Regions from separate parts of the Homo sapiens genome. Here region 2 is linked to region 1. Evidence: promoter capture Hi-C in human tissues and cell types (Jung and others, 2019). All regions are on one chromosome and are shown on one strand. The core of a region is centred on a gene start or on the middle of the fragment in contact, and the rest is flanking DNA. Distances in the headings are between cores, read along the strand shown.

Region 1 (5,346 bases), core at 2,498-4,997:
AATATTAGGGAAAGCCTTTCTGAAGTGTCATTTGAGAATTGAATGATAAGAAGGTAAGGGGTTGGTGGAAGAAATCACATATAAAGCCCTACAGGGGTAAAGGAGTCCTTCAGTTTTAGGAAATTAAAGGCGGCCAGTGTGGCTGGAGTAGTTAATGAAAGGAAGAGGGTTAGGAGATAGGGCTGCAGAAGGCAGTTGCTACCTCAGTCAGGATGCTATGGGTCACAGGAGCTGGGATTTTATTCTAAGTGAAATAGGAACGACTGATTACTTTAAATTGGACAGTGACATGACATCATTTTTTTAAAAAATATTTTTCTAGCTAATATGTCAAGAATGAATTGAAAGGAGGTAAGAGAAGTAGGGTCCAAGTCATTCATTTATTCAACAAATATTAGACAGTTTATGGAGTAACAAATATTGTGGCAGGTACTATTCTAGATACTAGAAATACAGCGAAAAACAACATAGACAAGGTCCTCTACCCTGGAGTCTACTTTAGAATGCCGAACACCCCCCCCCACACACATACCCCTTCCTTCTCATACATTAAGAGCTTCTCCCACCCTACTAGACATTTTCCATTAGCATGCAAATTCTAGTATCTTCCATCTTTAAACAAACATCAAACAAAAATCTGTCCTTTGACCTTTTATTCCCTCTAGCTACCATTCCATTTTTCTACTTCCTAAATCCAGAAAAACTTCTTTAAAGGACACTCTGTGGTAGCATCACCTCCAGTTATCGTCTCAACCCACTACAATAAAATTCCTTTCTTTTACTCCATTAAAACTGCCCTTGTCAATGTCACCACACTACCATCTTGAAGGTAAATTCTCACTTCTCTCTCCTCATCTTATTTCACCTCTTAGGATAATTCACACTGTTAACTAGTCCTTGAAACACTCGTCTTTTAGTTTCTGTGCCACAACATTCTTCAGGTTTCCTACCTTGCTGGCCTCTCCTTCTCAGTCTAATTAGAGGGCAATGTAACATAAGAATTAAGGGCATAGATTTCTAGATTTAGCTCTGAAAGCAAGTTGTGCTTATGGCATAGAAGACATTGGAAGAGAGTGCTCCCCTTTCTCAGGCAGGCTAGAAAACTGATTAGTATTTCAGATGAAAAATGATGGTGGGTTATACTAGATTGTTAACAGTGGGAATAAAGAGAAATAAATGGATTTTTCTGTATTTTAGAAATAGAGCCAAAAACACTTGGAGATGGATTGGATATAGGGAGTCAAAGAAGAGCAGCATCATGGTTTCTTCCTTGAGAAACTGGTAGAATTATGGAGCTATTCAAATAAGTCTTGGGGGAAAAAAGAAGGGTTTGAGGTAGAATAAAGTTTGTGACCCAATAAAAAGTTAGTGAGTATATCTAAAAAACACCTAGACTTAGAGATGATCTCATCCGATGCCTTTCCATTGAAATTAATACATGGAAGAGGTTATGTCACACATAGGATCCTGTGTGACCAATGTCACACAGACAATTGGTGGTAGAGCTGGAAATAGAATACGAGTCCCTCAGAATCCTGCTAAGAAGCCACAGATCAGCACCAAGCAAGATGATCATTACAGACTGAGTGAGCCCCTATTACTTTAGTCCTCTTCTTCCCCTGACCAATGCAGTAAAAAATATTTTAATAAAATTGTTGGGTTCATTTAATATAGTTAAGCAAGTTATGAACTGCATATTTATATTTCCTTAATAAAAGTGAGGGAAGTAAAGGCAGATAGAATATAAAAAGCAGTGTTACCCTTGACAGTAATAAATCTATTGTGGAGTCATTAATAACATTTACTCATGTATACTATTTGTAAAAGGTATACATGACATTCCCTCTCAAGTACTGTACATTCTATTTTGCAAGATAACACACATGAAAATAATTCAGGACAATAGGAGAGACGTCATAAGGCAATACTAGAATAACTGCCAAATGAATTACATAAACAATACTGTTTTGGAAAAAGGTACTCTGAAGTAGGCCCTAAGAGAAGGTTTAAGCTAAGCTCTGGAGAATTTGTAAAACCACACAGGGAAGGGGATTAAACAAACCTATAAAATATGTTCACAGGGTGATAGGTTTGGGGCTGAGGTTTGGAAGTGGAGAGAGTAAGCTATTTTAGACTAGGTGAACAGAGACATTCTGTTTGGTATGAGATTTGGGCCTGAATGATACAGAGGAAACAAGGAATGTGATAATGGGAGAAGGGGAGAATATTCTAGATTCTAGACCAAGTACAAATAATCCCTACGTTACTGTCTGTGTATTAGGCTCCATAGATCTAATACACAGAGATCTTGCTCGATGGTAAAATAATGGGATATGAATTCCTGAATTTAAACAAATTCTCTTTCTGAGCTCATTGTCTCCATCAGTAATAACTAGTGCACAGAACATGTGCAATAACGTACACAGAAGTGTTTTGGAAACAGAAACGTAATGTATCAAAGTTATAAAAATCAGTTTAAAACGACAAGAAGGAAAGGTTATATGATTCTTAGTTAAAAATGGAGAAGTGAGTTATGATCATTGCTGATATGGGTATTAGTATCACTTACGTATCTTTACACTGTCTCTTATTGTACTTTTTATGCGTATGATTTATTTGCCTTACCAGATTGTAAGCTCCCTGCAGCTGGTAAGCAGATTTTCAACATGGCAGCTGACACAGGCTTTTGGTTAGCTAAGATGATATATTAAGCCAATAATTCGTTTTACTGTCCTTTGGGGATCTGAATTTGTGTGTGTGTGTGCTCAGAATCCCATCTACTTTCGAGGGATTCGGGGGGCTTATGATATCACGAAAAGTTAATGAAGACAAGTATAGATAAAAACATAATAGAACCCATCTTAAATAGGACAGAAATCATAGGCAGGTAATTGTGTTAATTACTACCGCTGGCCTTTGGCTGATATTTCCGGGCAGTCAGAGGAAGAAGGAAATCGGCTGAATCCCGCAGTACCGCACTTTAATCGACCTCCAGGTAGTCATTTACAGTCATCTGCAGAGACCAACTTTTCCCTGGACCAAAACCTGCAGGGCACTTGGATCGCGTGGGCTTTCATACGAGAGTCAACAACAGCCTACACGGAACAACTAAGGAAACAGACATACATCAATATGACCCTTCGCAAAGTCTGAGAAAATAACTGAGCAAAGTTATTTACTTGTTTCTGTTGCTGTTAGAGCAAGGACCTCTGTCATGATGGAAACACTGATACCTCAACAATGGAATCCTGTTTTCTCGCTAGTGCTCTAGCCCAGGCTTGGCAATAGCAAAACAGCACCTGGGTCGCTTCATCGCCCCAAATAAACAGCCAGCATTAGCTCAGCTGCTCGCTGGCAGCCTCGGATCCAGGCGGGGTCAGTGTTGCGCACTGGGGATAGTGCCTCTGCTCGGCCTTCGGAGGGAGGGTTTCAGGTAGGCTGCTGCTAAGGGTCGGGAGCGTACTGTGTGAGGGTGGGTCTTAGGCTGATGCGGATGGGGGCAGGGAAAGAAGGAACTCAGGGCTGATGCGTTGCACAACTGCAGGGGGCACCACTGCAGACCCCCTCCTAGAGATGGAAACCTCTCGTGCCCCGTACACGAAGCAGCTGAAGCCAAGGACATTCTCTTCTCTGTGGGTCACAGGGGCCAACTCAGACCCTGAGAATAAGGGCTACCATCCCACTCCTCCCTCAGACCCCGGAGCTCACCCACCTGCAACTGCAGTCTCCGAAGTCTCCACCCCAGTCTCCCTGCCTCCAGAGGACTGGTTGCGATTGGCCTGCACCGCTGTCCCGTTAACTCTTCCGCAAGTGTGAGTGGCGTAACTGTCGGGCTCTTGGCCTTGGTCCCGCCCTTCGCTCGCCTCCGAAGCCTCGCCTACTTGACGTCATACAATGCCGCAAAGCGCAGGGCTGATCTCCGTCTCCGCCCCCAGCTGCTTTCTCCGAGAGGAGGTGGCTGAGTCGGGGGCGGGCTGGGAGGGCTGTCGGTGGGCCAGTCTGCGTAGCGACGGCCCGTCCCCTGCGCACGGACGCCGGGAAGAAGGGGGTGGGGCCACGTTTGCGTCCGCGCCATCAGGCCCGAGATAGCGGCGAGGTCCGCTTTCAGTGTATGGTTTTCCCTGCCAAACGGTTCTGCTTGGTGCCATCCATGGAGGGCGTGCGCTGGGCCTTTTCCTGCGGCACTTGGCTGCCGAGCCGAGCCGAATGGCTGCTGGCAGTGCGATCGATTCAGCCCGAGGAGAAGGAGCGCATTGGCCAGTTCGTCTTTGCCCGGGACGCTAAGGCAGCCATGGTACTACAGGTCTTTTTTGGTATTTAGAGCCTAGGAAGCAGATCTTGGGGGAGGCGGGCCGGGCTGTGGAGACCCGACACTCCCGCGCTGGCCGCGACCCTCTCGCTGTGGAGCCTGTGGCCGGCCCGGGCGACAGCAGCCGGCGCTGCGGAGTTGTGGGCGACGCACGGCCTGGTTTCCACGGCCTTTGTAACCGCCTTGGAGGCCGCGATGGCTGTAAACATTATCTCTTTCCCCTTGTTATTTCAAATGGAGACCCTCCTAAACCATGAAATAAGTGTAGGGAAGGCCGACAAAATTGGGTTTTTCTGTAATGAATGTTTTTATGTCTTTATCTTTAAATGTTATTTTTTTTTGTTTGTGTGCGTTCATAGCCTATGCTTATTCTGCCTGTTAAATATCCCATCATTCTCCAAGGACTCCCTGCACGTGGTAGGCCCTAGAAATTATTGACAGTATGATTTAGTTTGTAGCCCTGCGCTCCCCGGGATTGAAGCCAATGAAATTGAAGCCAGAGAGGATACCTTCCTCACTAGATGCCATGGGAAACAGTATTTTACGTAGATTTATTTATTTTAGCTATGTATTTTGAAGCAACAAATGGAAAACTGGATTTCAAAACAAGTAATCTGTACAATATGGTGCAATTTGAAACAACCGTGAATTACCATCATTTAAAAGACAGTCCTTTCTTAAAAATGTCCCATATTGAAACACTTTCTGTTTGAAATGTAGACTAGTTGATAATTTTTAAGGCACATTGGTGAAAATTTTTTACTCATTTGTAAGGAATTGTAAAATAAGCTACATTTAAAAGCCTGCAGTTTTTAAAAGTCAGTGTTAGAATTGAAGAAGAAAAAAACCTGAAAGATATTTTTAAAAATATATACTTTGTCATCTTATATTCTTGTTTTTTTGTGTGTGTGTTTTTAGTAATTATTTAAAAAATAATAATTGGAGGTGGGAGAGAGCAGAACAAGATAGGTCATGCCTTGCTAATTGTTGAAGCTGGGTGATCAATATATGGGATCTAGAAATACATATGCACAGAT
Region 2 (4,931 bases), core at 2,030-4,529, 1.5 Mb before region 1:
TCTTATAAACAAGGTCATATCAAGTTTTTTGAGTCTGTTCACTGTTAGAGCACTCGTTTATGTATTCTGTAGTACTTAAGGTTGAGGTAGTTTTATATTTAAGTTATATGTAAAGAACTTCTACTCATTCTTTAAGAGTTGGCCAAGTATTCTTTCTGTGAATACTTAACTGAAACCCCTTATATCAGTCACAAGTATACTTCATGCATATACTAATTTGTACACTTTTCAGAGTCTGTTGTAATTATGTTTGTGTTTCTGTCTTCCCTACTTAGCTTTGAGCTGTTAGATGACATGGTTTATTCATTTTATCTAGGATATGGCACAACTGGGTATAATGCTCAACTAATATTTGGTTAAAAAATAAATATATAATTTAACATTTTTCTTTCTTTACCCATTCATCAAGTAAAATCTCAACAATTTTATGTAGAAAAAACTCAGATGATTTAATACATGTAAATCTGTGACAATAACAGCTTGTATTGAATACTTATTAGGTATCAATGATATTCTTTGCATATGTTATTCATTACGTTCTTACATTAAACTTGTTTGGTAGATGTTATTCTTTCCTTTACATAGATATAAGCCTACGGCTCAATAAATTAACATATACTGCATGTCAGAAATTGGTGTAACTTGGATTTAGCTTATGCACTGTCTTGTTTAAGTGCCCATACATTTTCTATAGCTCCTAAAATTTTAACTCTTTTGAAACTGTGTAAGGAGGGGGAAAAATGCACAATGAATAAAAGCTTTCACTCTGACACCAGTAAGAAAGGTGAAAAACTCACCTGAATGAAGAATCAGATGTGAAACTGGAAGCTCATCTTATCTATAAAGGGAGCTTAAAATACTCAACTAATATAGAAAGGGCATTTGTAGCTTGTTATTACAGATTTATGTTTCTTCTTTTTGTGTAGCTGTTAAGTACTCATGTTCACATTGTGATGTCACTCAGGAGAGTTGATCTATTACTTCAAGTATAAAAAACAGAATGAGGGTCCATTAAAATTTCCAGGAATATACTAATAAGAAAATTTGTGAAATAATTTTTCTTTCTCAGATACTTTGCAAAATATTGACCCCATATATATATATATATACCTTATATACTATATATAGAGAGTCAGTATTTTGCAAAGTATCCGAGAAAGAAAAAAATATATATTTTATATATATATATATACACACACACATATATATAATATATAGACACACTCATATATTACACACTATGGGTATATAGAGTATGTGTATTATATCTGTATACATATATCTATAATACATAGTGTTTAGTAGAAATGAAACTCCTCAACAGGTTAGAATATGCAACTGGAAACTGAAAACAAAGTGTGAAAACTGAAGCTGCTTAGTTTCTTCCCTAGAAATCATGTTGGAGTTGACTTCTTGGGATTTATTTCAAAAATGACTGTTTGAGAAGAAAACCAAAGGTTTTGTGAGTCTTTTGCATGACTGCATTTGTACAATATCTGCAGTCAGGCCATATCTGAACTAGGTTCAATGACAGCTTTGTGAAGCAGTTATACCAATATCTGGCCCTTTAGGAACTCCCATAAGGTATTCCTTGTGCTTTTAGGGGATCCTCAGAGTGACCTCTCACTCAGAGACATTTGTTCTTGCTCAAAGACTTTTATCTAGATTTGCCTTTCAGTGATTTCTTCTCTCTCAGGGTAAGATAGCCAAGCTCTCATTTGATTTTGGGTCTCAAAATGTCTAATCATATATTAATTAGTACCTGATTCACAACTAATTTTGTAAGATTCAAACTTTTTAATGCCTGAGCATTTCTTTCTGAAAAACATGGTAAAATTTATTTACACTTATTAAGTTGTTGACTTTTTTAATCTTTGTACTCTGATAAAGAAGCTTTCTTGTTTGTTTAACATGATTCTAGTTTAGCACAATGGAAATGGAAGGGAGAGCCAAAGCATTAGGAACTGGCAAGGAGGTTGTTTCTATAGTAAATTTGGAAACTTCTATATCATTGCATTTCTAGTTGTTTTGATAGAAGAAAAAGTAGATATTAGAGGGTTGCAGGAAGCCAGATTAGCCACTCTTCTAAGATAGTGACTCTACTCATGTGGAATGGGTGAATTTACTTATCTGGATATAACGGCTCCACATATTGTGTCCCTAACATGAAGATAAGCCTCCTTGGCTTCTGCCACATCTTCACTGCTGCTCTATTAGTATATTACTCCAAATGTAAAATCTTGTGTCATTGCTCCAGGTTGAAGTGCACTGCAAATTAGTATTGGAGTCAAAGGGGCAGGGAAAAAAGAAATTAAGTGTTGAGAAGGAAGGCAAATACAGGGTGGAAGCGTAGCATAGGCTAAATTTTGAGAAATGTGAAATTGAAATGAGAGAAGTTCCCTTATCCCCCTGGCAGGGCGTGTGACCTGGGTGTGGCTGGCTTCTTCCATGCCCAGATGCTCAAACCCCTAGGGTGAGCATGCAGACGGGCAGGTGCATAGATCATGAGGAGCATTTTGGGGCTCTGGCCCCACAGCAGCTTATAGGGGTGAGTGTTTACAACTCTTAAAGCCCAAGTGGGCATATGTTACAGTGTGCTTTCGGCTTTGCCGTCTGCAGATGGCTTGTGTTAATCAACTTAATTAGACCCTCTGCCTTATCTGAAGAAAGGGGGCCAAGTGTGACAACCTGGGTTCTTGCCCAGTGTACTGGAAGAATCAGAGCACATGTGGGCTGCAAGGATGAGTGCAAGGTTTATTGAGTGGTGCAGGTGGCTCTCAGTGAGATGGATGGGGAGCTGAAGATGAGGATGGAGTGACAAGGTGATCTTCCCCTGAAGTAGGGCTGCCCAGCGACCGAAGTCTTCTCCGACCACCCTTGGCTGAACTCTCCTCAGCGTCCATAAGTCCTTCCTCCTCTTTCTTTTCTTTTCTTTTCTTTTCTTTTCTTTTCTTTTCTTTTCTTTTCTTTTCTTTTCTTTTCTTTCTTTCTTTCTTTCTTTCTTTCTTTCTTTCTTTCTTTCTTTCTTTCTTTCTTTCTTTCTGTGTGTGTTTTAATTACACTTTAAGTTCTGGGATACATTGGCACAATGTGAAGATTTGTTACATAGGTATACATATGCCGTGGTGGTTTGCTGCACCTATCAACCCATCATCTACATTAGATATTTCTCCTAATGCTATCCCTCCTCTAGCCCCCCACCCCCCAACAGGCCCCATTGTGTGATGTTCCCCTCCCTGTGTTCATATGTTATCACTGTTTAACTCCCATTTATGAGTGAGAACATGTGGTGTTTGGTTTTCTGTTCCTGTGTTAGTTTGCTAAGAATGATGGTTTCTAGCTTCATCCATGTCCCTGAAAAGGACATGAACTCATCCATTTTTATGGCTGCATAATATTCCATGGTGTATATGTGCCACATTTTCTTTATCCAGTCTATCATTCATGGGCATTTGGGTTGGTTCCAAGTCTTTGCTATTGTGAATAGTACTGCAATAAACATACATGTGCATGTGTCTTCACAGTAGCATGATTTATAATCCTTAAACTGGCTAGCCATATGCAGAAAACTGAAACTGGACCCCTTCCTCACACCTTATACAAAAATTAACTCAAGATGGATTAAAGACTTTAAAGACTTAAACCTAAGACCTAAAACTATAAAAGCTCTAGAAGAAAACCTAGGCAATACCATTCAAGACATAGGCATGGGCAAAGACTTCATGACTAAAACACCAAAAGCAATGGCAACAAAAGCCAAAATTGACAAATGGGGTCTAATTAAACTAAAGAACTTCTGCACAGCAAAAGAAACTATCATCAGAGTGAACAAGCAACATACAGAATGGTAGAAAATTTTTGCAATCTATCCGTCTGACAAAGGGCTAATATCCAGAATCTATGAGAAACTTAAATTTACAAGATAAAAACAAGCAACCCCATCAAAAAGTGAGTGAAGGATATGAACAGACACTTCTCAAAAGAAGACATTTATGCATCCAACAAACATAGGAAAAAAGCTCATCATCACTGGTCATTAGAGAAATGCAAATCAAAACCACAATGAGATACCATCTCACACCAGATAGAAAGGCAATCATTAAAAAGTCAAGAAACAACAGATGCTGGAGAGGATTTGGAGAAATAGGAACTCTTTTACACTGTTGGTGGGAGTGTAAATTAGTTCAACCATTGTGGAAGACAGTGTGGCAATTCCTCAAGGACCTAGAACCAGAAATAACCATTTGACCTAGCAATCCCATTACTGGGTATATACCTCTCTTCTCTTTCTCTGCCATGCCACCCTGCCACACTCTTCACTGCTCTCCACTGCTCTGTTCCTCTGCTCCTCTCATTGCTCAGCTGCTTGTGTCTGTGCCTGCTTAAAGTCTCTGGTTTAAATGGGCACAGGATCGGGGGTGTAGTAGGCCAAAAGGCAACCTTCTGGGTACGAAAACAGAAATGTCTGTCCTCACTTAGCTCTATGGGCATAGGCTCAAGGGTGGAGTCCTCACCAAAGACCCCACACTTCTCTACCAGCACTTCGCTGCCCGCTTCCCATATCAGAAAAATGTGACCAAAAGACAAATCTTGGCCCTTCTTATTTTCTTCCATCCTCATTATCTTCTAGTTGTGTTCCCTGTCTTAACCCCCAGTTAGACCATCATACACAAGCCAGTCTTGTGAAATCTCCATTCATGCCATAGCTGCCAGCTCACATAATATTTTATGACATTGAAAACTGGCTAAAGGCTGAAAAATATTGAAAAGGGTATTCCTCAGGGAACTGAAAATTTTACAGAGTGGAAGAACAAGGTAAGAACTAGGTTCTTGGCCGGGCGCGGTGGCTCACGCCTGTAATCCCAGCACTTTGGGAGGCCGAGGCGGGCGGATCACGAGGTCAGGAGATCGAGACCATCCCGGCTAAAATG

The links. The method cuts DNA at HindIII sites, captures the fragments that hold promoters and counts their contacts. A contact is called where the count stands out against the background at its distance.
Region 2: a fragment that was not itself captured here is called in contact with the fragment with the promoter of KBTBD3 in region 1 in 1 of the 25 tissues and cell types used here (dorsolateral prefrontal cortex).

The regions. Positions count from the first base shown.
Region 1 is chr11:106,073,600-106,078,945 of GRCh38, forward strand. KBTBD3 (kelch repeat and BTB domain containing 3) reads right to left here and starts at 3,748. Exons shown (of 4, transcript NM_198439.3): 1 at 3,713-3,748; 2 at 2,908-3,108. It overlaps AASDHPPT (aminoadipate-semialdehyde dehydrogenase-phosphopantetheinyl transferase), which reads left to right and starts at 4,063. Exons shown (of 6, transcript NM_015423.3): 1 at 4,063-4,294. The coding sequence starts at 4,112. RefSeq lists enhancers at 3,541-3,660, 3,671-3,780, 4,091-4,330. The HindIII fragment of the contact is 12,921 bases long and covers 1-5,346 here.
Region 2 is chr11:104,613,024-104,617,954 of GRCh38, forward strand. No RefSeq gene overlaps it. Among named protein-coding and RNA genes, the nearest start is that of LINC02552, 6.2 kb to the left of the region's middle. The HindIII fragment of the contact is 8,478 bases long and covers 1-4,931 here.